Regions from separate parts of the Homo sapiens genome. Here all the other regions are linked to region 5. The links are contacts of gene promoters, found by promoter capture Hi-C in blood cells and fetal thymus (Javierre and others, 2016). All regions are on one chromosome and are shown on one strand. The core of a region is centred on a gene start or on the middle of the fragment in contact, and the rest is flanking DNA. Distances in the headings are between cores, read along the strand shown. Region 1 overlaps TAB2 (TGF-beta activated kinase 1 (MAP3K7) binding protein 2). Region 2 overlaps LATS1 (large tumor suppressor kinase 1). Region 3 has its middle 16 kb from the start of TAB2. Region 4 overlaps PCMT1 (protein-L-isoaspartate (D-aspartate) O-methyltransferase). Region 5 holds the start of PPIL4 (peptidylprolyl isomerase like 4). Region 6 overlaps NUP43 (nucleoporin 43). Region 7 overlaps TAB2 (TGF-beta activated kinase 1 (MAP3K7) binding protein 2).

Evidence for each region. The method cuts DNA at HindIII sites, captures the fragments that hold promoters and counts their contacts. A CHiCAGO score of 5 or more calls a contact.
Region 1: a fragment that was not itself captured here is called in contact with the fragment with the promoter of PPIL4 in region 5 in 2 of 17 cell types (neutrophils and naive CD4 T cells); the score reaches 7.8 in neutrophils.
Region 2: a fragment that was not itself captured here is called in contact with the fragment with the promoter of PPIL4 in region 5 in 3 of 17 cell types (naive CD4 T cells, non-activated CD4 T cells and total CD4 T cells); the score reaches 8.3 in naive CD4 T cells.
Region 3: a contact is called between a fragment that was not itself captured here and the fragment with the promoter of PPIL4 in region 5, in 1 of 17 cell types (neutrophils). The highest score is 5.1, in neutrophils.
Region 4: a contact is called between a fragment that was not itself captured here and the fragment with the promoter of PPIL4 in region 5, in 2 of 17 cell types (neutrophils and non-activated CD4 T cells). The highest score is 7.7, in neutrophils.
Region 6: a fragment that was not itself captured here is called in contact with the fragment with the promoter of PPIL4 in region 5 in 2 of 17 cell types (neutrophils and naive CD4 T cells); the score reaches 7.4 in neutrophils.
Region 7: a fragment that was not itself captured here is called in contact with the fragment with the promoter of PPIL4 in region 5 in 2 of 17 cell types (naive CD4 T cells and non-activated CD4 T cells); the score reaches 8.4 in naive CD4 T cells.

Annotation. Positions count from the first base shown.
Region 1 is chr6:149,324,295-149,328,145 of GRCh38, reverse strand. All of the region lies in intron 1 of TAB2 (TGF-beta activated kinase 1 (MAP3K7) binding protein 2), which reads right to left. Among named protein-coding and RNA genes, the nearest start is that of TAB2, 8.5 kb to the right of the region's middle. The HindIII fragment of the contact is 9,509 bases long and covers 1-3,851 here.
Region 2 is chr6:149,694,479-149,698,748 of GRCh38, reverse strand. It overlaps LATS1 (large tumor suppressor kinase 1), which reads left to right. Exons shown (of 8, transcript NM_004690.4): 3 at 3,528-3,675. Among named protein-coding and RNA genes, the nearest start is that of LATS1, 21 kb to the left of the region's middle. The HindIII fragment of the contact is 9,773 bases long and covers 1-4,270 here.
Region 3 is chr6:149,299,828-149,303,622 of GRCh38, reverse strand. It overlaps a transcript of TAB2 not described here. Among named protein-coding and RNA genes, the nearest start is that of TAB2, 16 kb to the left of the region's middle. The HindIII fragment of the contact is 2,859 bases long and covers 725-3,583 here.
Region 4 is chr6:149,778,543-149,782,291 of GRCh38, reverse strand. All of the region lies in intron 3 of PCMT1 (protein-L-isoaspartate (D-aspartate) O-methyltransferase), which reads right to left. Among named protein-coding and RNA genes, the nearest start is that of PCMT1, 31 kb to the right of the region's middle. The HindIII fragment of the contact is 4,222 bases long and covers 1-3,749 here.
Region 5 is chr6:149,544,036-149,547,889 of GRCh38, reverse strand. PPIL4 (peptidylprolyl isomerase like 4) reads left to right here and starts at 1,847. Exons shown (of 13, transcript NM_139126.4): 1 at 1,847-1,954. The coding sequence starts at 1,885. RefSeq lists enhancers at 278-954, 1,658-1,957. The HindIII fragment of the contact is 2,652 bases long and covers 959-3,610 here.
Region 6 is chr6:149,732,028-149,735,775 of GRCh38, reverse strand. All of the region lies in intron 6 of NUP43 (nucleoporin 43), which reads left to right. Among named protein-coding and RNA genes, the nearest start is that of NUP43, 13 kb to the left of the region's middle. The HindIII fragment of the contact is 2,011 bases long and covers 864-2,874 here.
Region 7 is chr6:149,341,380-149,345,468 of GRCh38, reverse strand. All of the region lies in intron 1 of TAB2 (TGF-beta activated kinase 1 (MAP3K7) binding protein 2), which reads right to left. Among named protein-coding and RNA genes, the nearest start is that of TAB2, 26 kb to the right of the region's middle. The HindIII fragment of the contact is 2,379 bases long and covers 230-2,608 here.

The DNA.
Region 1 (3,851 bases), core at 55-2,554, 220 kb after region 5:
ATACTGATAGATAGCTTGGTTTGGTTAAGATGACCACTTCAATCTTCTACCTAATTACTTCAACTAGGTAATGAACTAACTTCAATTAGGTAATGAACTAATTACCTTCAACAAGAGCACTTACTTCTTGTTCCACTTGCAAAATTACAGCAATGGCTCTGTCATCCTTTAAATGTATGGCAATGTTCATGAGGGGAAAAATCTCATGAAGAGAATGAGTATGTCTCATGCAGGCCAAACAATTACCTTAGCTAGACAATCTCAAAGGGCATTCAACACGTGTCAATGCACTTTTATATGCAAAAAAGCAGAATCGCCATATGTGGAAGTGGGAATTTTCTTCTGAAATCCCCATTTCCATGTGCTTATTTTTCCATTTCCTATAAAATCATCCTAAGAGTTGGCAAGCAGTACTTTAGTCAAGTACAATTCAGGTACATGCTAATCATGGGGTAAACAGTAAGTCACTCTCAATGCAAATTATAAAATATCTGTATTTCTAGCAACTTTTATTTGACACGGATCCCTTGGATGGTTCCTTGAGCACATTTTCTCACAATTCTAGTAACTACTTAACTGTGACACCTACATACATCTGCAACATACAGCTGCTTAACTTCTGAACAGCAGACGCTCATGTTTATCAGGTCACTAATTGCCTTTTAAAAATTAACCAAGTTGCCAGGCTCAGTGGCATGCCATACGTAGTCCTAGCTACTTGGGAAGCTGAGGCAAGAGGATGGCTTGGGCCTAGAAATCGAGACCAGCCTAGGCAACATAACGAAACCCCCATTTCTAAACAAATAAATAATAAATCAATAAAATTAACCAGGCAACTATGACATAATTTGTGCTCAGTAATTAAATGGAACATTTAATCTGTCTTAAATTTTTAAAAAACGACCATCTTGCCTATATTTTATAATGATGACAACCCTAATAGAAACCTACAATCAGGAAATGCTAGTATAAAAGAAAAGTGTAAAAGACAAAATAGTCCATAGGATATCAAGAATGTGGAAGCAAATATCTGTATAATAGGCTTTGTACCACAGATCTGAATATTAATATTTAAAGGCCAGTTTCTCCCACTTAAATTTTTATGCAATTATTAGCTTTGCTGAACATAAGATAAACTCTTGCAAACTACAAAAAAGCAAAATTAATTTGCTGACCTAATTATTACTGATATTAAGTGACCTATCCAAAAGGATGTGAAAATGTTAGGTTTTCTAAATAATGGCATTTGATCAAAACAAAAATCAAATTTCTGTGCATAATACTTCACTCTACATGTTGACTTTTCCAACAGCAAAAGCTAAAAACCGCTTAAAAAAGCAAGGCTGAGGATGGGTGGATCACCTGAGGTCAGGAGTTCGAGACCAGCCTGGCCAACATGGTGAAACCCTGTCTTTACTAAAAATACAAAAATTAGCCAGGCAGGGTGGTGGGCGCCTGTAATCCCAGCTACTCAGGACGCTGAGGCAGGAGAATTGCTTGAACCCAGGAGGCAAAGGTTGCAGTGAGCTGAGATTGCAACATTGCACTCTAGCCTGGACAAAAGAGCAAGACCCCGTCTCAAAAAAAAAAAAATAATAACAAAAACACAAGGCTGAAAAGACCAACATGTACCTTATAATTCTTTCTGCCATGATAACATGTCATTTATCCAATGATTAATGGTTCAATCTCCTATTTGTGCTTCTGGTTTTATTTTACAGATTGCATAAAAACTGCACACGTGTAAGATTAAAGCATATTTATTACCTCTAGGCTAAGAGATTTCATGTATATACACTACAGAATGTGCTAAGCCTATGAACTTAATAAAATGCAATGACTTTTTTAAACTGTCTTTTTTTTTTTTTTTTTTTGAGATGGGGTCTTGCTTTGTCACCCAGGCTAAAAATTTTTGTCTTAATCTACTGAGTAAACCAGTGTAACTGTTGTAGACTATTTTGCTGTAATAATTAGTATTGAATGCTATTTGTATAACCAATATTTTAACATAATAATACAATTTGTTTACTCTTCTTGGTACTATAGCAATACAGATAACTTATTAACAAAATATAAAACCATTGCTATAGCTGCTGTTAAAACAGGCTGGGTGTGGTAGCTCACACCTATAATCCCAACACTTAGGTGGGAGGCCAAGGCAAGATGATTCCTTGAACCTAGCTGCTCAAGACCAGCCTAAGCAAAATAGGAAGAACCCTTCTCTACAAAAAATAAAAAGTAAGCTGAGCGTTGTGGTACGCATCTGTAATCCCAGCTACTTGGAAGGCTGAGGTGGGAGGATCACTTGAGCCTGGGAGGTCAAGACTTCAGTGAGCTGTGGTTGTGCCACTGCATTCCAGCCTGGGCAACATAGCGAGACACTGTCTTAAAACATAAACATAACAGAAAAGTATAAAGATCATTTTACACAGATAAAGTGGCACAAGTTTTGTAGTATTATATTAAACCTCATATTTGAGGTGTTTTCAAAATCTTATCCATGCCAATTTTCTAATGCTTTTCCTAAAGAAGAACTATATTATAGATTTGTGGACTAATTTCAAATTGAAAATGCAGCTTTTCCCACAGGAACAGGCAAGAAAAATACAAAGAATTAACAATCCGTATGTTTATTTTGTAGTTAAAAAAATAATGATGATGTTTTGTTTGTTTCATCTTGGTCTAAGGAGTTACAGTAAATTAAAAAGTACAGAAATTCTTTTTTCATTCTATTTGTTGAGGAAAAATGAAGTGGACAGATACCTTGAAGAAAAAACCTAACGAAGCAAAATTCCAAATGTAAAATTACTTCCAATTACTTAAGCTACATATCCTAATGTAACTAGAACAAGAATTCACCTGTTCTATGTAAGGTAGGTATTACTATATCCATTTTTCTGAAGAAAACTCCTTGGCTCAGAGTGTGTGAATGATGTCTAAAATCACATAGCTATAGTCAGCAACAGAACTCAGGTTTGAACTTGGGCTCATCTGGTTTTAAAGCCCAGAACTTTTATTATACTTCATTGACTCCCAACACGGTAAAATTAAGATATTTAGTTAAAGAGGTGGGGGCTGAGAAGCTGAAAAATTAACAAAGAGATCAACTAAAAACCAAAAGCAGTATTTTCCTAGCCTGGGCAACAAAGGGAGATCCTGTCTCTATAAAAAATTTTTAGAAATCAGCTGGATGTAGTTGCGCACACTTGTAGTCCCAGCTATTCAGGAGGCTGAGGTGGGAGAAAGGCTTGTGCCCAGGAGTTTGAGATTGCAGCGAGCTATGATTGTGTCACTGCACTCCAAAAAAAAAAAAAAAAAAGTAATATTTTCCACAGTTTAAAACCAGGTAAAGTCTCTTCTACCCCTATGGCCCCAGTTCATATCAGAATTACTGCTTTTGTTGATTTCTCTGACTAAACAAAAGTTGCTTGGCCTGAGGACAATGTTCTGCAAGGTCAAGTTGCTGAGTTCAAGTTTTCATCTGCATTAGCAAGTATTTTTCTCTCATTGATGAGGAATGGAAAGTCACTCCCCTGAACTGCCCTGCCACTGGCTCTATACTGATGAGCCAAGCAATATCTCTGGCCTGCTTCACTGGCAAACTGACAGGAAGCAAACTTGTGATGTGCTCAATTTTGCTAACATTAAAAAAGGTAAACATTAAGATATTAAAGGTCAAAAATAATTTTCCTTAATATCAATGTGAGAGTAAAACTTTAAGCTAAAATTCAAAATAATATTAATAATATTATTTAATGATTCAGATGATGGTTAATAAACTGGTGAATAAAAATTTATAGATCAAAAATTACTCTTTCCTACACATTTTAATGGATTATTTTAAACAAGTC
Region 2 (4,270 bases), core at 938-3,437, 150 kb before region 5:
CTCTACAAAATATATGAAAAAAAAAACATTAGCTGGGCCTAGTGGCACATGCTTGTAGTCCCAGCTACTTGGGTGGCTGAGGTAGGAGAATCATCACTTGAACCTGGGCGGCGGAGGTTGCAGTGGGCCGAGATCACACCATTGTACTCCAGCCTGGGCGACAGAGTGAGACTCTGCCTCAAAAAAAAAAAAAAAAGACTTCTGGCTGGGTGTGATGGTTCACTCTTGTAATTCCAGTGCTCTGGGATGCCAAAGCAGGAGGATTGCTTGAGGCCAGGAGTTCAAGTCCAGCCTGGGCAACATAGTGAGACCCTGTCTCTACAAAAAAAAGTTAAAAATCAGCCAGGTGTGGTGGCATGTTCTTGTAGTCCCCAACCACTTAGGAGGGTGAGGTGGGAGGATCACTCAAACCCAGGAGATTGGGTCGCAATGAGTTGTGGTTGCACCACTGCACTCCAGCCTGGGCAACAGAGCAAGACCCTGTCTCTAATGGGAAAAAAAAAAAAAAAGACTCCCATTCCAAAGTTACTGATTTGAGCGTTCTTTTTCACACTGGCACTAACACCTCCACTTAATGAATGCTTGGTTGATGTTTTTACAGCTATAAGAAATATTGTAAAACATAGCAATAAATATTAAAATATAAAGGTTAGCATAGTAATCACCAGAATCACAAGGCTGAAATTCTAGTGCATTTAACAAGAATATGGGCCGGGTGTGGTGGCTCACACCGGTAATGCCAGCACTTCAGGAGGCCAAGGTGGGTAGATCACTTGAGGTCAGGAGTTCGAGACCAACCTGGCCAACAAGGCAAAACCTTTTATATATTTACTAAAAAATATAAATTAGCCAGGCGTGTTTTTGGGCGCCTGTAAATGCCAGCTTCTCTGGAGGCTGAGGCAGGAGAACTGCTTGAACCCGGGAGGTGGAGATTGTCGTGAGCTGAGATCACGCCACTGCACTCCAACCCCAGGCGACAGCGAGTCTCCATCTCAAAAACAAAAAAAAGAAAAGAAAAATGATTCCCACAATATTGGAAAAGGGTAGTGGGTGCTAATTTTCTTACCAATGGAGATGTTACTGCTGTGTAATAATAGCATAAATACATATAGAGTTCACTTGACTTAACCAGTTTTAAAATTAAACACTCCCTGATGAATTTTAATGGGTGATTTCTATTATTTTACATTTACACATATTTGGTTTTAACAAAAATCTAAATAATAATGCTTTTAGCAAGATAGTGATTCAGTTAATTACGATTAGCTCAACGTCTTAAAGATTTCAGAGCCTAGGACTCTTATGAATATCTTAAATTTTACTTCTTGGTGGCAACATGCTCTAGCACAGGTGTCATATCTGTTGCCTAGGAAACGGGGTCGAGGAAGGACCAGTACCTAGATAAGGCAGGCATGGCAAAATTTTTATGGCAACCCTTGCTGCTTCCAACAAAATCAGTAACTTTTTCTAAGAAAGGGAGAAATGACCTTAGGTAGGCAATAAGTTCTTACCACATCCTTTCTTTGGTTGGTCTCACATTCTTCTCTTATCATTTCATATAGGAGGATCATCTGTCAGTAGCCTGTTCACCCATTAGTCTTACTAAGCCATTTCTCATTTAAAAATGTCGTTTGAAATACTGAATCCTCTAGGACAAGTAAGTAGTTGCCTCCCTCTTGAAAAATGCATGTCAACATACTTTCTGCATGATAGTGAGTGATTTATGTTTATATAAAACATAAAGTACAAGGAGTGGAAGAGAGCAGCCAACATTTTAGCTCCAGGCACTGTGCTTGGTAGTTTACATGTTTTCTTATTTAATCCTCACATCAACCCTATGAGCCTATTACAGGCAAAGACACTGAGCCTCTGAAATGTGAAATAATTTGCCAGGTGTCACTCTACTTTACAGAGCTGCTGGAACTCAAACTCACATCTGTCTGATTCCAAATCCTCTGTTTTTTTCATCGTACTATATAGCCTCCTAAAGTCTTTATCACATAATCATATATAGTCTAAGTATCTTCTTTTGTCTTATATTTGTATTCCTGTAATATAGTTCTCTGAAAACGTAATCTCTAAGAGGATAAGAGCCAGAACTACTATGCACAATGGCAATGTGCTTAATAAAATACCAAGATACTCATATAAAAAAGTAGTTCTTTTTTTTTTTTTTTTTTTTTTTTTTTAAGACGGAGTTTTACTCTTGTTGCCCAGGCTGGAGTGTAGTGACGTGATCTGTACTCACTGCAACCTCCACCTCCTGGGTTCTCCTGCCTCAGCCTCCCAAACAGCTGGGATTATAGACACGTACCACTACACCCAGACAATTTTATATTTTTAGTAGAGATGGGGTTTTACCATGTTGGTCAGGCTGGTCTGGAGCTCCTGACCTCAGGTGATCTATCCGCCTCGGCCTCCCAGAGTGCTGGGATTACAGGTGTGAGCCACCGCACTCAGCCCAAAAGAGTTGTTTCTGATATTTTGATTGCTACCTTTTTAACAATCTGATAGTCTCTGATTGTTTATATAAGAATTAGGAAGCTGGGAGCAGTGGCTCACACCTGTAATCCCAGCACTTTGGGAGGCCGAGGTGGGTGGATCACCTGAGGTCAGGAGTTTGAGACCAGCCTGGCCAACATGGTAAAATGCTGTCTCTACTAAAAGTATAAAAAATAAGCCAGGCCTGGTAGAGCGTGCCTGTAATCCCAGCTACTTGGGAGGCTGAGGCAGGAGAATCGCTTGAGCCCAGGAGGTAGAAGTTGCTAGTGAGCCAAGATCGCACCATTGCACTCCAACTTGAGCAACAAGAGCGAAACTCCATCTCAGAAAAAAAAAAGTAAAAAGAATTAGAAGTAATCAGAATCATGTTGCTATGATTGTACCCAGAGAAGTTGTTAATCCTAATTCAAGCCAACAATGGTGTGTTGAAAAAAATAAAAATTTAAAAATACTTTAAAAAAAGACGTTAATCCTAGGAGGAAATAGAAATATGTTACATAAAGATGAAAATGCTAAAGAAACATTTGGAAGATTTGAGGGTTTTGTTTTCTTTCTTTTTTTTTTTTTTTTCCAAGACAGCATCTCGCTCTGTTGCCCAGGCTGGAATACAGTGGTCATCTCAGCTTGCTGCAACATCCACCTCCCAGGTTCAAACAATTCTCATGTCTCAGCCTCCTGAGTAGCTGGAATTACAAGCGTGCGCCAGCACACCCAGCTAATTTTTGTGTTTTTTTGCAGAGACTGGGTTTTTTACCATGTTGGTCAGGCTGGTCTTGAACTCCTGGTCTTAAGTGATCTGACCACCTCGGCCTCCCAAAGTGGCTTGAGCCACTGCGCCCTGCCTGTTTTAGTTGAGATTTTGTGCGGGGTTTTTAGTAGCTACAAACAGAACATTAATATCATGGTTTGGGGCTGTGTTCTTCATAATTATGGATTTCTCTAGTGGAACTCATAGTGTTCTTTCCCTTGTATTATTGTAAGATTTAAATTTTGTTTCTTTTTTTTTAAACTTCAATTCATATCAGGATATGGTTATACAAGCTCTTCAGAAAACTAACAACAGAAGTATAGAAGCAGCAATTGAATTCATTAGTAAAATGAGTTACCAAGATCCTCGACGAGAGCAGATGGCTGCAGCAGCTGCCAGACCTATTAATGCCAGCATGAAACCAGGTGATTAATCAAATATTTTATTTTCTCATCTCTTCTTTTACTGTGTAGTTTAAAAATACTGAAGTCTATCAAATCTTCCTTCTTAGAAATTGTAAAAGCATCCCAGTAAATGAAAGTCTCAAATTAAGATAACATTATAATGTTATACCAAAATGAATTTAAGGATGGGGTCCTCACATTTAAAAGTTAATAGATAATTCTGGTAAGCAGCAGTCTAGATTGAGATCTATTTGATTGGTAATACTGCAGCTGAAATATGTCTATTTTCCCTCCAAATCCCATCATTCAGACTACTCTTTTTTCTTTTTATATATTTTTTTCATATTATGGGAGTAAAATATGATCAACATAGAATATTTAGAAAGCAAATACAAACATCGCTGTTAATAACAATATTTTGGTGTATTTTGTTTCCCAGTCTTTTTTCCTGTGGGAAACCAGAATAGGTTTATCTATGCGTATTTTGATTCTTGTTGTTTAAGCAAAAAATGGGAACATACTAAAACCTACTTTTTTCACTTAATATACCATGTACAATTTTACTTGTTATTAAATTTTCTACAGAATAATTTTACTAGCCACATTAAAATAGACT
Region 3 (3,795 bases), core at 905-3,404, 240 kb after region 5:
TTTAAGAAAATACAGGCAAGTAAAAAATTACCTATAATTATTCTATCAAGAGAAAGCCACTCTTCTGTATTTTCTTCTATTTGTAAACATACATAGATTTATGTATGTTTATATTTATATATATAAATACATAATGTGAACACACACACATACATTTTTCCAACCAAAATATAATAATGGGGTATCCTGCTTTGCAGCCTGTGTTATTTCAGCTTCTCTGACTAGCAGACATCAAGACATGATTAGATGCAACGGTCCTCAACATTTTTAGCACTAGGGACCGGTTTTGTGGAAGACAGTTTTTCCACAGACTATGGGACAGTGGAAAGGATGGTTTTGGGATGATTCAAAAGCATTGCATTTATTGTGCCAAGGCCACAAGAGCATTACATTTATTTCTATTATTATTGCATTGTAATATATAATGAAATAATTATACATCTCACCATAATGTAGAATCAATGGGAGCCCTTAGCTTGTTTTTCTGTAAGTAGACAGTCTCTCATCAACCCTAGATAATCCTGTCTGGGGTTGATGGGAGATAGTGACAGATCATAAGGCATTAGATTCTCATAAGGAGCACACAACCTAGATCCCCTGCATGCGCAGTTCACAATAGGGTTCGTGCTCCTATAAGAATTTAATGCTACCACTGACCTGACAGGAGGCAGAGCTCAGGAGGTAATAGGAGCAATGGAGAATGGCTGTAAATACAGATGAAGCTTCACTGGCTCACCTGCTGCTCACTTCCTGCTGTGTGGCCCAGTTCCTAACAGCCTCCAGACCAGTACTGGCCCGTGGCCTGGGAGTTGGGGACCCTGCTGATAAGATATGAATCTGTGAAAGAAAGTGGGGAGAGGCTGGGAGATAGATAGATAGATATGACCCCAAGTGAAGCAAAGAAAGATGGGAAGGTGAGTGGTAATATCCTAGACTGCCATGTAGTGCAGAGAAAGTTCAGCAAGACCTTGAGGAGTACTTTAGTAGAAGAGCTGGGAGACGTGGACTCCTCCATCATCAGAAGAGTCTACAATTCCCATGAAGGAGACTGCAATAGTAACTCTATCAGGTTCAATCACTGTGGCCTTGGCATGAATGCAGAGACAGATTTTCGGAGAACAGCAGCAGAGGCCTTTGGGCAATTATACTCCCTGTAGTTGGAAGTGCACTACCAATTAACTACCTTTTATTAGGGCCATCTTTCCAAGCCATAAAATATTCATATATAGGGTTTCAATAAATATTTATGCTTCAAAAATATACATAGATATTTTAGAAAACCTGGAAAATGAACTGAAAGAAGATAAAATTTATAAGTAAGTCTAAGTCTAGAATTACCCACTGTTAACATTTCGATATATGCCTTTTCAGGTTAAAGTGCATATATGTAATGTTATATGCTTATATATTTGTATAAATACAAAATATAAATACATATATATGTTCATAATTTTCTAGCATTTGGGAAAATGACAGTGTCTGCTCTTTAGTCTATCTTGGACATATTTTTGAATACCTATATGAAACAGAACAGGCTGTAAGTTTGTAGAAGCTGATTGAGAGATTTTTAACATATACAATGATAAGACATTGTATCTGCCGAAGTGATTTTCTGCTTGGATTTTTGGAGATAGGCTTAATTTTATAATAACTCTTCACCGAAGTTATTTTACAAATTGTATATATAGTTTTGTATTAAATGATATAAGAATTTAATGAGCAAACGTGCCATAATCTTTCAAAGTTTACTTCTATTTTCCAAAGTAGTAGCTTAGTGACTAACTCAAGAGCTTTATAAAAGTGATTTATTTTGAAATTATAAAAATAAGATTTTAAAGGTTGTAACATGTTCAGTAAATAGTGTTTGTTGAAAAGTAGTGGTTAAATACATGGAGCTCTTAGTCACAATGCACACGACTAAAGAAGAAATGTTATGTGGAAACATTCAAATGAAGATACAGTTCTTGTAGTATGAAACAACTTTTACATAAATGAAACAAACAAAAAGATTTGAAAATGTGAACTGGTATTCATTGAGTTAGCACCTACAAGGATGGGTTCATATTTCTCCCCACTATGCTTTCTTGATGAATGTATATGTGTAATGTACAGAAATGACCATTTCATTCTCTTATTAACTTCCTGCTGGCCTTCACTTTAAGAAATTTTTATAGTTGAAAATGTAATCTATATATGAAGGCTTCAACAACCTCAATACATAGGTAAGATGATAATTCCCTTAATACTCCAGTTTATAATGGCCCCAAGCACCCACTGCTTAACTGGCAGGCTTTCCAACTTTCTTCTAGCATTGTTGTAGTTCCCCTGTTACTGTCTGCTGGTGGACAGAGAATTCAAATGTCCCTTGAGGCTAAATTTGGTAACTGCTGGCTTCTCATTGTGCCTTCTGGTTTTGGTTGTCCTAAGTGCAAGGGATTTGTCCCTGGTAATGTTCAGTGGTTGCTGACCACCCTGCCAAGAGCTTCTACTCTCTTACAGAGATGTGGCTCCAGCCATCCCAATGTGGACCTCTGCCTGTTAGCCTAGTTCATGATAATTCCAAGTGTGAGAAGGAAGATGGCCTCTTGTCATCATCCAAATTCTACCAGGTTTCTCCCACAGCAAGACTCCCCAAGCTCTGAATGGCATAGCACCTGATATAGCAATTTCAATTTGCATATAGGTTCATTTTTGCCAAGTTGAATCCAATACGCTTGAGTAGCTGAGTCAGGATTCTCTCTTTCCAGGAAGCAGGATGCAGAGACTAGGATACTTTAATTCCATGATTTAGGTCTTGAAGCTAAGAACTAATGGTATGGACTCCTTTCACCCCCCCAGTGCTCTCCTGGCCTTCTGCCAACTCTTCCCTGCCATTGCCTCCTTAGGATGAATTTCCTCAGTCTGACATTGGGTCTTTCTTTTAACCACAGTGGAAGGTGTGTGTTGGGGAAGAGGGTGAAGGTGGGGTAAAAGATGGTTCCTAACCAATGACTGACAAAAGTTTATGCTGCATAACACTAAGCTATGCTCAAGGATTAACACTGAATCAGGAAAAGGCTGAAGGAAAGAGAATGATCCAGAAGAGTAATTTTCAGTCCAATATTGAATTTTAAAATACCTCACAGAATCGTGTAATTTTACAACTGGAAGGGATTTTAAAGACTTTTTCATCCAACTCCCTTATTTTATCTGTGCAGAAACTGATGTGACTTGCTCAAGGTCAGAGTTATTGACAGAACCAGCTCTATAACCAAAATTATCTGACCCTGTCAACCTCGCACCCACAATTCAGCAAACACATCTTATTGATCAAAACCACTCTGTTGTATTCTTACTTTTATTAGAATCAAACATACAAACAAGAGCTTTAAAATTTTTTAAAATCAGAATAACTGTTAACAATGTATAGATATTTTAGGATGGATCCCTTACCTGGATTCACCAGGATTACAGGGGTCTATTTTTAGTTTTCCATCTTCCTAGTCCTATACAAGATACTGTTCCTATATCGTTAATACATAGAGACAAAAATTCTTCAAAAATAGGAAGAAAAAAGGTATATTTCTACCTTTAGCCAGAAGCTTTTATCTAGCAACATTTAAAAAAAAATTTCTTTTTTAGAGACAGGTTCTAGTTCTGTTGCCCAGAGTGCAGTGGCACAATCATAGCTCGTTGTAACCTCAAATTCCTGGGCTCAAGTGATCCTCCTGCTTCAACCTCCAGAGTAGCTGGGGCTACAGGTACGAACCGCCATGCCGGCTAAGTTAAAAAAAAAAAAAAATTGTAGAACTGTGC
Region 4 (3,749 bases), core at 778-3,277, 230 kb before region 5:
ATGCAATAAATGATTCAAGATCACAACTGCTTATTCATATAATACAATTAAAAATATTTTACCCTATTCACATCTTGCACTGTATGCTTACTGTTATGTGCATATATATAAACATTCATATAGATGTTTCATGTGACTATATACATACATAGATACACAAGTTTTCCTTATTAACAGTCATAGATGGCTCAGAAAATATAAGTAATTAAAAATGCATCAGCTTTGGGAGAAAATTCTGACATAAGCTATGACATATGCTAAGTGAAATAAGCCAGTCACAAAAAGACAAACACTTTATGATTCCACTTATATGATGTACCTAGAGGAACCAAATTCATAGAAACAGAAAATAGAATGGTGGTTGCCAGGGGCTGAGGTAAAGAAAGAATGAGAAAAGTGGGAAATTGTTATTGAATGAGTATAGAGTGTTAGTTTTGCAAGATGAAAAGTGTTCTGAAGACTGATTGCATAACAATGTAAATGTACTTAACACTACTAAATGGTACACTTAAAATGGTTAAGATGGTAAATTTTATGTTATGTGTATTTTAACACAATTAAAAATTTTAATGCATTTATATAAAATACAGTTTTAACAATGAAAAGACAAATAACCCAATTAAGAAATGGTCAAGAGGCCAGTTATGGTGGCTCGTGCTTGTAATCCCAGCACTTTGAGAGGCACAGGCAGGAGGATTGCTTGAGCTCAGGAGTTTGAGACCAGCCTGGGCGACATAGCAAGACCCTGTCTTTAAAAAAAATTTTTTGGCCGGGCGCCGTGGCTCACGCCTGTAATCCCAACACTTTGGGAGGCTGAGGTGGGCGGATCACGAGGTCAGGAGTTCAAGACCAGCCTGGCCAACACGGTGAAACCTTGTCTCTACTAAAAATACAAAAATTAGCCAGGTGTGGTGGTGCATGCCTATAATCCTAGCTACTCAGGAGGCTGAGGCAGGAGAATTGCTTGAACCTGGGAGGCGGAGGTTGCAGTGAGCTGAGATGGCACCACTGCACTCCAGCCCGGGTGACAGAGCGAGACTCTGTCTCAGAAAAAAAAAAAAAGTTTTAATTATCTAAAAAAAAAAAACAAAAAAAAAAAAACAAGAAAGGGGTAAGAGACTGAATAAATGTTTCTCCAAAGAAGATACAGAAATGGCCAAAACGCACATGAAAAGACGCTCAACATCATTCATCATTAGGGAAATGCAAATCAAAACCACAATGAGACACCACTTCATAGTCACTAGGATGGATAAAATTCTTTTAAAAAAAGAAAATAACAAATGTTAACAAGGAAGCAGAGAAACTGGAACCCTCATACATTGCTAGTGGGACTGTAAAATGGTGCAGCTGCTTTGAAAAACGGTTTGGCCATTCCACAAAATGTTAAACATAGAGTTTTCATATATGATCTGGTAATTCCACTCCTAGGTAAATACTCGAGAGAAATGAAAACACACAAAAATGTGTACACAAATGTTCACTGCAGCATTATTTAGAATAGCCAAACACTGGAAACAATCCAAATGTCCCTCAACAGTTAATAGATAAATGTTGTATATCCATACAATCGGATATTATTCAGTCATAAAAAGGACAGAAGTACTGATTCACACTACAACAGGGATCAATCTTGAAAACATTATGCTAAATTTAAAAAGTCAGTCATAAAAGGCAACATATTATATGATTCTATTTATATGAAATGTCTAGAATAGGCAAATCTATAGAAACAAATAATAGATTAGTAGTTGCCAGGACCTGAGCAGAGCAGGGGTTGGGATCTGACTGCTAATGGGTATAAGGAAGGTTTCTTTCTGCAGTGATGAAAACCTCATATTAGAGAGTGCTGATGTTTGTGTAACTCTGAATAAACTAAAAACTGCAGAATTCTACACTTTAAAGGGATGAATTCTACAGTATAAGAATTATACCTTTTTTTTTTTTTTCTGAGACAGGGTCTTGATCTGTCACTCAGGCAGGGGTGTAGTGGTGTTATCATGACTCACTGCAGCCTCCATCTCCCAGGCTCAAGCAATCCTTCCACCTCAGTCTGCAGAATAGCTGGGACCACAGGCACGTACTATCACGCCCAGCTAAATGTTTTTTATTTTTTGTAGAGATGGGATCTCACCATGTTGCCCAGGCTGGTCTCAAACTCCTGGGCTCAAGTGATCCTCTGGCCTCGGCCTCCCAAAGTGCTGGAATTACAGGCTCAAGGTACTGTACCTAGCCAAGAATTGTATCTTAATAAAGCTGTTTTGTATTGTTGTTTTAAAATGCATCTTTTGCCATGAAGTAACTGCTATGCTTTGTTCAGCAATGAACTGGACACCCAGACCAAACTTCAGGGGAAAGAAAAAAATCACAAAGTATTTCCCTTAATACCTGAAAGCATACCACTCCAGTCAATTTCCCAACCATGCTAGATACTGGTTCTCCAAAATGACTTTTAGCATTCATACTTCTTTTTTTTTTTTGAGTCAGAGTTTTGATCTTTTGCCCAGGCTGGAGTGAAGTGGTGCGATCTTGGCTCACTGCAACCTGCACCCTCCCCAGGTCCAAGTGATTCTCTTGTCTCAGGCTCCTGAGTAGCTGGGATTATAGGCTCCTGCCACCACACGTGGCTAATTTTTGTATTTTTAGTAGAGACGGGATATTGCCATGTTGGCCAGGCTGGTCTCGAACTCCTGACCTCAGGTGACCCACCTGCCTCGGCCTCCCAAAGTGCTAGGGTTACAGGCATGAGCCACCCCGCCCAGTCACATTCATGCTTCTATATAAATCTTTCATTTAGGTAGTGTTGTGGGACAAATCAGAGACGGGAGAGACTGAGCACAGTTCAGGAGAGTGTCTAATTATTAAGGTGATCACTGGCGCAGTCGGACTAGGGTCCAGAAAGTCTGATCCCTGAACAAAGGGATCAATCACCTTTTAAGCAGTTTGTGGCAGGAGTTAGGGAGTTACGTGCTGCAGGAAGGGTACTTGCAGAAGCGAGATCAAAGGCAGTTAATTACTCTTTTACATTTGTTACACCATATGTTTTACATCCTTGGGAATACATGCTTTTGTAGCAATTGCTTATCAACTTTGTGACTTTACAGCCGAGCTAGGGAGGGAAGCAAGAACTCGCTGTGCCTCAAGGAATGTAAAACGATGGAACACAGATAAGCCTCTCTGCGCATAGAGGAGGGATAAGCAGTTAATATTCTCTCTCAACCCGGGCCCCGCACCAGAGTGGGGGGGTGGGGTGGGGCTATATTACGTTCTACCTTCAAGAAAAAGAATAAATTTTTCTACCATTATACTTATAAAATTCATTAATTCCCCCTTCAGTAGTAGTTCAAACTGTTTGCAGATTATCTTAAGACTATAACTTTTCTTTTTAATCACTTATTGAATAGGTAATATACAAAAAAGTCATTCCTAATCTATGGTTTAAAGAAAAAAGAAAGCCCGGCCCAGTGGCTCACACCTGTAATGCTAACACTTTGGGAGGCTGAGGTGGGAGGATCGCTTGAGCTCCAGGGTTCAGAACTAGCTTGGGCAACACAGTGAGTCCTCATCTCTACAGAAAATGTTTTTAAAAAGTAAAGGGTGGTGGTATGTGCCTATAGTCCCAGCTACTCAGGAGGCTAAGGTGGGAGGATCTTTTAAGCTCAGCAGGTCTCGGCTGCAGTGGGCCATCATCATGCTTCTGTACTCCAGCCTGGGCAACAAAGCAACACCCTGTCTTAAAAAAAACAAAA
Region 5 (3,854 bases), core at 598-3,097:
TGTGGCGGGCACCTGTAGCCCCAGCTACTGGGGAGGCTGAGGCAGGAGAATCGCTTGAACCCAGGAGGCGGAGGTTGTAGTGACCTGAAATCGCACCACTGCACTCAAGCCTGGGCAACAGATCGAGACTCCGTCTCAAAAAAAAAAAAAAAAACCCAAACCGAAAAACCATATTTATTCATTCAACAAACATTTATTTGCACATTGTGTACCAGGCTGTCATACGCATTAGGGATATAGCTTTAAACAAAACAGACAAGATGGAATATCCTGGAACACACATTCTAGTAACAATAAACAAACAAACAAATTCGTAAATAGCATGTTAGATTGTAAAATGTACTCTGGAGAAAAAGCTATATGGAGAAAAAGAAGTGTCTGTGGGGTTAATTTTAATTATGGCAGCCATGGAGGGCCTCACTGACAGGGTGACCGACGCCAAAGCGCCTGAAGGAGGTGAATGGGAGCCATACAAATAACTGGAGGAAGAGGTCCCTCAACCAAGGCAAGTGAAAAGGCCATGGGGCAGGAGTATGTCAGCAGTGTTCAGGGAATAGCAAACTGTCTACTGTGGCTTCAGAGGAATAAGAAGATGGCGTAGGATGGGGTAGGAGAGGATCTTGTAAATCATTATAAAAGCTCTGGCTTTTCCGCCAGGTGCGGTGGCTCAAGCCTGTAATCCCAGCACTTTGGGAGGCGGAGGCGGGCGGATCCACGAGGTCAGGAGGTCGAGACCATCCTGGCTAACACGGTGAAACCCGGTCTCTACTAAAAACACAAAAAATTAGCCGGGCGTGATGGCGGACACCTGTAGCCCCAGCAACTCGGGAGGCGGAGGCAGGAGAATGGGGTGAACCCGGGAGGCGGAGCTTGCAGTGAGCCGAGATCGCGCCACTGCACTCTAGACTGGGCGACAGAGCGAGACTCCGTCTCAAAAAAAAAAAAAAAAAAAAAAGCTTTGGCTTTTCGTCAGATGTGAAGTTATTGGAGATTATGTGTAAAATGTCATAAGAAAGAGTGACAGGCTTGCCCAGAAGAGTGTCTGGGGAATAAACTTGCATGGCAAAATGTTAGTTTTGGCCAGGCGCAGTGGCTCACGCCAGTAATCTCAGCACTTCGGGAGGCCAAGGCGGGAAGAGTTCGAACTCCTTGAGCTCAGGAGTTTGAGACCAGTCTGAGCAACATAGTGAGACCACCTCCCCCGACCGCCATCTCTACAAAAAATAAAAGAACAAAATTAGCCGGGCGTGGTGGCGCGCGCCTGTGGTCACTTGGGAGGCTGAGACAGGAAAATCGCTGGAGCCCGGGAGGTGGAGGTTGCAGTGAGCCGACATCGCGCCACTGCACTCCAGCCTGGGCAACAGAGCGAGACCCTGTCTCAAAACAGAAAACAAAACAAAATGTTAGTTCTTAGAATCGGAAACCCCTAGTAGAGGCCCAAAGTTGTTTTGCGAAAAGGAGACTGACGAGGAAACCCGGAGGAGTCCGCCCAAATAGGTGGAGAGAAGATCCCGCCGCGGGCGCCCCCTGGTGGATAAAAGGGCCGCGCGGAGGGCCGCTCTGCTCTTGAGACGGACACAAACGGGGCACAAAACACTATACTGAGACCGTTCTGAGGGACAGGCTTCCACCAAAATCGCCAAGGGCGGACCAGGATTTTCAAAACGGCCGCGCCGGGGGCGGGACCAACCCGATCCGTAAGTCAGCTGGGCAGCCCGGCGCCCGCACGCCGACCGGAAGGAACTGCTCGGAACCGGGGGCGGCGCCGGCGAGATGACGCAAAAGGGGTCGCGCCGAGGGTGACGCGTGGCGTAGACGACGCCGTCGGCCTGCGCCTGTCACCCCCCTCCTCCCGGGGTTTGTAGCGGAGGAGGAGCGGGCGCCATGGCGGTTCTACTGGAGACCACTTTAGGCGACGTCGTCATCGACTTGTACACCGAAGAACGGCCGCGTGGTGAGGCTTGAGCCCCACTCACCTGTCGCCGGGGCCCCCGAGCTTGTCTCCCTACTTTCCCTTCTCTGCGCAGTCCAGGGCAGAGATTGGCTAGAGCTCGAGCTTCTGGGCTGCTGGTGCCCGCGACTGGGCTATTTTATTAACCGGCCTTGGCTAGAAAAGTTTTTGTGACGGGAATTCGTTTGAGCCTTGGCAGCCCTTCTCCCGTATTTTGTGTTGGCCAGTCCGGTGGACGGTGCTTGCGGTCATTAATTGCCTTTGGGAGTGTGTGTGTGGGGCGTGTGTGTGTGTGATTCGAGCTGCACATACAATACCCATAGCTTTTGTGCCTTTATTGTGTTTACTCGTGAGAGGAACATAGGAACTATTGCTTGGTGTGTAATCGGTTAAATCTTGATGAAGGCAGTTAGGGTGTGCTTGGCGCAGCGAGTGTGGGCATACCGCTTAGGTGGAGGAGGAAGAGGTTGTCTGGAGTGTGGACTGAGCCTTCGAGGCACTGGGCTAAGTCCTGGGCTTGGCTTCTTGCCCCCGAGGGTCTGATTTTTCCACTGGGGGAAGTAGACACAGGAACCCATTTTAGTTTTCTATGTGTTATGGTAGAAGAATGTGTAAGTTGCCACGGAAACCAGAAGAGGGCGGCTTCTTTGGTGGGGGGTGGGAAGAAGCAAAGCTAGCGAATACTATATAGAACACTTGAACTAGTTCTTTCAAAGATGAATGGGAATGAGGGTTTTCTTAGCTTGGACTTTCTTTGTTTGGAATTTTCTGGAAACGGCAAGTAGTTTGGTGTGGCTGGAAGGACTGGTGTGAGTCGTGGAATGGTAGACTCGAGTGTGGTCAGATACGCCTAGGTCAGTCGTGAATAGTCTTGTGTGCCCTACTGATGATCAGAGTCCTTGAAGACTTTAAAAGCAGGATTGAGGCATGGCATACTTGTTTTGAGAAGATAATAGGCAGCGGTGTGGAGAATGTATCAGAGTCAGGAAGAAACTGAGACCAGGAGAGATTAGTTACAAACAGGGTCCTACCCACATGGAATGCAGAGCCTATCAAAGAAGGTGAAATAAGTTGCAATATTGTACAATAACTACCTCCTGCCGTGCTCCGCTTTCCCTCGCACGCAGCTATTCCTCCCTCCTCTCCACCTGGCGAAAACACTACAAACTCTCCCGTACCATTGTTACCATTCTTTTGCTGTTTCTTCTAAACAATATTCTTCTCCACTATTGTCCTTCTGGCAAACTTACTACTTATTATCTAAATCTCAGATCAAGCATCATCTCTTCTTTGAAGCTCTCCCTCCTTTCTAAGCAGAGTTACCTGAGGGTTCCTCTGCTGTGTCTTAGGTCTTTTATAAACCACATGACACATTTTATTTTAACATTTACCTATTATCCTGGTGTTGTTTACAAGCGTGCCCTCGCTCAAGAATGTAAACTCCAATGAGAGCAGGAACTATACCATAATTATCATCTCTATATCCTGAGTACCCAGTACAATGTCTGCTACTTTTAGGGCACACACTAGAGGTTCATTATGATGACTAATGGATATAAATGTGTTGTATTAGTTAGGACCCTTTGTTCAAGTGATAGAAACCCAACTCAAACTGGCATAAACAAAATAATTGGTTGCCTCATAATACTGGGGTAAGCTTGGATCGAGTGGCTGGATCGAGTGTTTCAAAGAATATCATAGGGAATTTTGTTTTTTATCTCTTGATTTTGCTTTTCTTTGAGTTCCTTTGACGCTCTGCCCATGTAGAGTAGCACCTGGCAAAATAAATGGGCCTCTTTTCCCAGAGTTATGAGGAAATAAAGGGGTGTAGAGCTACCCCACCCAATTAACAAGCAGTGGGTCTGCAAAGATAAGCCCATAACAATAAGTCCACCCCCTGTAC
Region 6 (3,748 bases), core at 620-3,119, 190 kb before region 5:
TATTGCCCAGGCTGGTCTCAAACTCCTGGGCTCAAGTGATCCTCAGGAAGTGCTGAGATTACAGGTATGAGTTATGAGCCACCACATCAACCACAGGTTTAATTCTTATATCCAAAACTGTAGTTAGAATCCTTAGATATTTATCTCTGTGTGTGTTTTTTTTTTTTTTTTTTTTTTGGAGACAGGGTCTCTCTCTGTTGCCTAGGCCAGAGTGCAGTAGTGGTGTGATCATAGCTCATTGCAGCCTTGAACTCCTGGACTTACACGATTCTCCCAAAGTGCTGGGCATAGCCATTATGCCCATGCCCAGCCTTATGTACTTATTTTCTTAGGATAATTTTTTAGAAGTAGAATTGCTAGGCCAAACATTTTGCATAGCGCATTGACAGATTTTTCTACACAAAAATAATACCAGTTTAAGCCAGGCACATTGGCACATGCCTGTAGTTCCAGGCTCCTCCTACTCAGGAGCCTGAGGCAGGAAGATTGCTTGAGCCTGAGAGTTTGAGGCCAGCTTAGGCAACATAACCTCTTTAAAAAGTTAATAATACTAGTTTAATCCAGGTGAGTGGCATGCACCAGCTTCTCAGGAGGCCGAGGCAGGAGGATTGCTTGAGTCCAGGAATTCAAGGCTGTAGTGCATTATGATTGCACCTATGCACTCCAGCCTGGACAATATAGTGAGACCCCACTCCCTGAAAAGTGATAAAAATCATACCATTTTATATGCCATAGTGAAGTGTGCAAGAATGCCCTTTTCCCATGCAAATGCAGGCTGTCATATTTGTTAATAAATGTTGTGCTCCTCAATTTATTGTTGCATCACATCATTTTTTTTAACATGAACAATAGATTTATAAGCTTTTTTTTTTCTTTTGATTCTGGTGGAGATGATTTAGCCGGACAGAAATTTTTCATTTTCTCACTCTGTCTTTGATATCATGCCAGAATGGATTATCCTTTTTTTTTTTTTTTTTTGAGACAGAGTCTTGTTCTGTCGCCCAGGCTGGAGTGCAGTGGCACAATCGCGGTTCACTGAAACCTCTGCCTCCTGGGTTCAAGCCATTCTTCTGCCTCAGCCTCCCTAGTAGCTGGGACTAAAGGCATTTGCCACCATGCCTAGCTAATTTTTGTATTTTTAGTAGGAATGGGGTTTCACCATGTTGGCCAGGCTGGTCTCAAACTCCTGACCTCAGGTTATCTGCCTGCCTTGGCATCCCAAAGTGCTGGGATTACAGGTGTGAGCCACTGCGCCCGGCCCTATATATTTTTTTAAAAATGGGGTCTCTCTCACCCAGGTTGGAATGCAGTGGCATGATCACAGCCCACTGCAGCCTCAGCCTTGCCTCCCTGGCTCAATCAGTCCTCCCACCTCAGCCTCCCGAGTAGCTGAGGCTACAGGCACGCACCCCTACTACACCCGGCTAATTTTTTATTTTTTGTAGAGACAGGGTCTCAATATGTTGCCCAGGCTGGAGTGCAGTGGCATGGTACCTCACTTAAGCCTCAACCTCCTGGGGTCAAGTGATCCTCTTGCCTTGCCCTTCTGAGTAGCTGGGACTACAGGTATATGCCACTACACCTAGCTAATTTTTTTTATTATTAGATTTCTATAGAAATTATGATTCCATAAAAGATTTTGAGGAAATGATGGCCGGGGGCGGTGGCTTATGCTTGTAATCCCAGCACTTTGGGAGGCCGAGGCAGGTGGATCACCTGAGGTCAGGAGTTCGAGACCAGCCTGACCAACATGGAGAAAGCCCGTCGCTACTAAAAATACAAAATTAGCCGGGCGTGGTGGCACATGCCTGTAATCCCAGCTACTAGGGAGGCAGAGGCAGGACAGTCACTTGAACCTGGGAGGCAGAGGTTGTGGTGAGCCAAGATCGCACCATTGCACTCCAGCCTGGGCAACAAGAGTGAAACTCCGTCTCAAAAAAAAAACAAAACAAAACAGATTTTGAGGAAATGAGGAAGACTGGTATCTTTCAGAATTGAAAGTGATTTTGGAATATATAGAATTTCTTTGGGGCTGGGCACGGTAGTTCATGCCTGTAATTTTAGCACTTTGGGAGTCCAAGGCAAACAGATCTCTTGAGCCCAGTTGTTTGAGACCAGCCTGGGCAACATGGAGAAACCCCATGTCTGTTAAAAATACAAAAGTTAGCCAGGTATGGTGATACATACCTGTAGTCCTAGCTACTCAGGAGGCTGAGATAGGCGGATTGCTTAAGCCTTGGAGGTCAAGGCTGCAGTGAGCCATGACCATGCCATTCTGCACTCCAGCCTGGGCGCCAGAGCAAGACCCTGTTTCAAAAAGAGAGAGAGAATTTCTTTGAGTTGAATTATGTAGAAGTTTGTCACTGACCTATGTTCCTAAAGTATGAAGCATACATATGTGGGCTAAGAAATAGTTTTTCTTGATAAATAATCAACAAATAAAAAATAAAAAGCCCTCCATCTGAGACTGGATCCAAATTCTTGGAACATTTCCAAATTTTGGTTTGGTAGAAGTCAGTTGCTATTTCTGTGATAAAGACCAGAAGTATTCAGAATCTTGGCATTAACCAATATTGGATATTGCCTCTTAGAAATTCATTTTTATATTTCATTAGGATCTTTCTCAGTTTTTCCAATAATATAATCTTCATATATTAATGACACAGGAATTGAAAAATAAGACAACTTACCAATTTAAAAAAAAACTTTTCCGTAAAAGACAGTCATTCCTAGCTGGGCACACACCTATAATTCCAGCACTTTTGGGAGGCTGAGGCAGGAGGATTGCTTGACGCCAGGAGTAGAAGACCAAGGTAGACAACATAGCAAAACCCTGTCTCTATTTAAAAAAATAAAAATAAAATAAAATAAGCTTTTTCATAAAGTAATAGGGTTAAATGTTTTAGCAATGATTTTCTTTTCTTTTTTTTGAGACGTAGTTTTGCTCTTTTTGCCCAGGCTGGAGTGCAGTGATGCAATCTCAGCTCACTGCAACCTTGCCTCCCGGGTTCAAGCAATTCTCCTACCTCACCCTCCCAAGTAGCTGGGATTACAGGCACCTGCCACCACGCCGGGCTAATTTTTTGTATTTTTGGTAGAGATGGGGTTTCACCATGTTGGTTAGCTGGTCTTGAACTCCAGATCTCAGGTGATCCACTCACCTCGGCCTCCCAAAGTGGTAGGATTACAGGCATGAGCCACTGCGCCTGGACATTTTTTTTTTTCCTTGAGACAGAGTCTCACTCTTGTTGCCCAGACTGGAGTGCAATGGTGTGATGTTGGCTCATTGCAACCTCTGCCTCCCGGGTTCAAGCGATTCTCCTGCCTCAGCCTCCTGAGTAGCTGGGATTATAGGCACCCACCACCATGCCTGGCTAATTTTTAGTATTTTTAGTAGAGACGGAGTTTCACCACGTTGGCCAGGCTGGTCTTGAACTCCTGACCTCAAGTGATCCACCCACCTTGGCCTCCCAAAGTGTTAGGATTACAAGCATGAGCCACTGTGCCTGGCTACTATTTTCATTTATTTCCTTGCCCAGTACGCAAATTTAGTTGGCTTCTTTTTCCTTTCTTTTCTTTTTTTTTTTTTTTTCTCAGACAGTGTCTCACTTTGTCGCCCAGGCTGGAGTGCAGTGGTGCGAGCTCGGCTCACTGCAACCTCCGCCTCCCAGGTTCAAGTGATTTTCCTGTCTCAGCCTCCTAAGTAGCTGGGACTACAAGCACGCGCCACCACGCCTGGCTAACTTTT
Region 7 (4,089 bases), core at 170-2,669, 200 kb after region 5:
ACAGAATGAGTTATTTGAAGGTACCTGTATTAGCCAACCACAGGTACCTTCAAATAACTCAAAGCCTGTGTTGTCTATGCTGAAACTGTTATGGATGTGCAGTTTACAGCTGCAGCACTGACCAATTATCAGGATGCTTGATAGATGAGATTTACAGTTACTTTCTAACTTAAATGTTACTTATGAATTTATATATGTAGGTCCATCCATGATTAACCATGTCTAAGCTTAGTGTCATAATTTGTAATCCTTGGTTAAAACAAAGAAGCCAGGTGACTTTTTTTTTTACCTAAAGGCTAACTCAAGGTGAACTATTTATTATGCAAGCACTCAAACTGACTAAGTATTACACATCTACCAATGAGATGGTTTAATTAATTAAAGGAAAGAGGTAAGGGGTGGTAGAAAAAGAAGTAGGCTTATTGTTACTATTAAATATAAGAGTCTCCCAATAAACACAATACCTTTATGGAAAGTTATTGTACTATCATATACAAAGGTGGACAAGACACGCTGTTTTCTCTGAGCCTAGAGTATAATCACTTTGGTTCTACACTTACTATGAGCCAAGTCCTGTGCTAAATGCCTTAAACATGTATTATTTCAGTTACTTTTTACAATATTCCAGTAGTGAGGATTAAGTGAGAAACTGCAGGTAAAACTCTTTGCACAATGCCTGACAGAGTAAATGTCCCTTATTAGGCATTACTACTGCCTAACCTCTAACTTCATCAATTCAACCCTCACTCTACGGTAGTCAGCTTTTCAAAAGATTCACTGACTTAACACATACCAGTTCTGAGAAATCTTCAACGGATTCCCATTGCCTATTAAAGTCCAAACTCCTTCATCTGACATTCAAAAAAACATGACATAGCTCCATCTCCCATCACACCCCTCCCTATCCAACTATTCTCTATGCACACTGGACTGCTCACAATTTCTATAATATATTAAATACTTTCATCTCCATAACTTAGAAATACTCTTGCTGCTTTCTCTAAAGAATTCTATTTATCCTTCATGGTTCAGCAGAAACATTACCTTCTCCACAAAGCTGATTCTCTCCAGTACTCTTAAGTATGTTGTATGCATCTCTATTACGATACTTTCATATTACTTGTCTGTAAGCTCACTAAAACAAGGTTTATTGATTTCTACATCCCAGCTGTGTCTATTTACATTGAATAATGGAGAAAAATTTCACCATTAATAGCACCACTGAAAATAACTAAGACTTGATATTCATATGTAATTCCTTCTTCAATTTCTACTTCAATTCACCTAACAGTGGTAATGACCCTAACTAGTAGCTCCCTTTCCAGCTCTAATTCAACACTCAGTGACACATAATTCTTTAAACACCAAACAAATAATGTGGCACATAATCAGTGACCTAATGCTGACTAAATTGCCAGACATTAAATTCATTATGCATTAATACTGCAGGAAGGGATGTAAGGAAGGAGTTAAGCACATGCTAGAATATTAGGATTGCCTTTTAAATTCACAATTGGGATACAAAATTCCTCTTCAGTTTTCGGTAATCTCTAACCTAGATAAACTGAACTAAAATCAAAAGACATGTATGATTATCTACCCATTTAGTAAATAAACTCATCTTTCAGGGATTAATTCTGTTTCTACATCTATATATATTGGTAAAAGGAATAAATATCCTTAAAAGCTAATTGATCTTGGCCCTCTAACCATTCATGAGTAGCTTTCTCTTGGTTAAAATCTAAGGCATTAGGAAACCTCAGTTTTTGGTTTTGTTGTTACACTCCAGGATGACTCTGACTATTTGTAACTTCCTTGGCTGGTTTCTTTTGGGTAATCAAGTAAAATATTAGCAAATATTAGTTATACACTTAGTTTAAAAATATAACTAAATTCTTCAGGTAAAGTACTATATAATACATTGCTCGGTTCTATCCAGAAATAATATGTCTAATTTCCAATTACTGAAGAATATATTAACCTTTTTTTTTTTTTTTGAGACGGAGTCTCACTCTGTTGCTCAGGCTGGAGTGCAGTGGTGCAATCTCAGTTCACTGCAACCTCCGACTCCCTCAGTTCAAGTGATTCTCGTGCTTCAGGCTCCCAAGCAGCTGGGACTACAGGTGCACGCCACCAAGCCTGCCTAATTTTTTTGCATTTTTAGTGGAGGCGGGGTTTCGCCATGTATGAATATATCAACTTTTTAGGTAAAGGCATTAGTAGGGTAGAATAGTTGAGGATCTCAGGAAGAGGGAAGTAGTTTCATTAACTGAATTCCCTATACTGCTTGTACTCAATGTAAACCTTTTAAAGAAAGGCAGTTTTGTTGTTGTTGATGTTTGTTTTTCAATTTTTTTTGGTATGTTTATACGGCTTCACTCAATAGCATTTCACATTTATTTTTCTTATGTTTTTGCATTAGTTTGCTACTACTAGCAAACAAGTTAAATTAGAAATATTCAGGCAAAAGGTATGTTAAACTCAATACTAGCTGCATGTTACCTAGATGTTAGTGTTACTATACTTTAAAGCAAGATGACTATAAGTTTTGAAAGTCAAGTTTTAGTTACTATAGATTTAATAATAAGGCAGTTACACAGGCTAAGCTTGACTGGTGCCATGGACTTTAGCATACCTGGAAATAGAAAAATTCAAATTGTAGCTGTTCTTGGTTGGCCCATTGCCATTTTTGCAGCTTACAAATTGTTAATTAAGTAACTGCAGTGAGCTCATCTCTACGGGATACTTCTTTTCCAGGGCAGGTCCAGGAACTGGGTCTGGAGCCTTGAAAGCAGAAGAGAAACTAGAGTAAACTAGAGGTAGGCAGAACAAGAAATGTGACCAGATAACATTATGAGATGTAATAGCAGTAAGGTAGTCCCCAAAGTCTCTCACATAAAATATTCTGAAGGGAAAATGGGTCTCTTAAATTGCAAGTAACCAAAGGATGCTGTTTACTTTGGTTAAGCCATTCTTTTAACCTACCCAACACTATTCTGGAATCTCAGTTCCAGCAACTCAAAACAGTAGTTTTTATGAAATCTCTAATGGCTTTTAGCAACAGACTGTCCAACAGGAGACCACAGAGTAACTCTAACAGAAAGAGAAAAACAACAACAAAATCCAAAATTGGAAATGTAAAGTCCTCATTTTCAGGTCATTTTTCTCTTCCCTTTCACTATCGTATTTCCAATCATCTTCTAAACGCTCCCCTAATTTCCTATGATCCATTCCCAGGGGTTTCTTAAGAAATGCTTTAGATATATCCAAGCAATGAATTGAATGTTAAGTTCCAATTTTTAAAAATACTTGGTAATTCTTAAAGAGGGAGGCAAAGAACAGCTCATAAGATGTGGTTCTTAACCACACTGGAAAATCTTTTTTTCCATTACCAAAATAGATTCAATGATTTTTTTTTTTTTAATTTTTGTTAGGGCCATATAAAACAAAAACCAAAAACAAACTTGCAACTACGAAGGTTACAGAAATAATAGGATATTATGAATAGTAGAATGTTGTACTATTTTGATTATTAAAACCTGGAAATGATGTCCTTATGCTTGGTAGGCTGGTACCCTTAGGCATTTCCCTAAGAAACTAATCCCACAGGAGTCAAAATAAATAGAATTTTCTGCTGCTCTCAAATTATCATAGATGTTGTGAAAACTGTAATAGGACAAAAAAAAGTAGTGAAGACGAAGATCCAAAAACTGAATTCCCTGCATTTCCAGTAACTAGCAATATAAACAGCAAAACAGAGTAAAAGTAGTTTTTGTGAAAAATGTAAATTTTCCATCTATTGTGATGGCACATTGCAGGACAAGGAATTCTGTGAGAGAGAAGTCTAAGTTCAGATCTGATTTCAGTATGGCTTTGAAATTAAACTGCAGAAATCTCTTTTATTAAATGGAATATCACTACCCACCCTGCTGTACTGTCCATGAGATTTAGCTAAAGTGTATGTAAAGCACTTAACAGTGTGGCACATATAGGCATTCAATATATTTTTCTGCATTATTAAAGAATGTAACACATTTTCTTGTTCTAAACATGTGGGTATACTTAAGTTTTCATTTTCACAAATGCTAA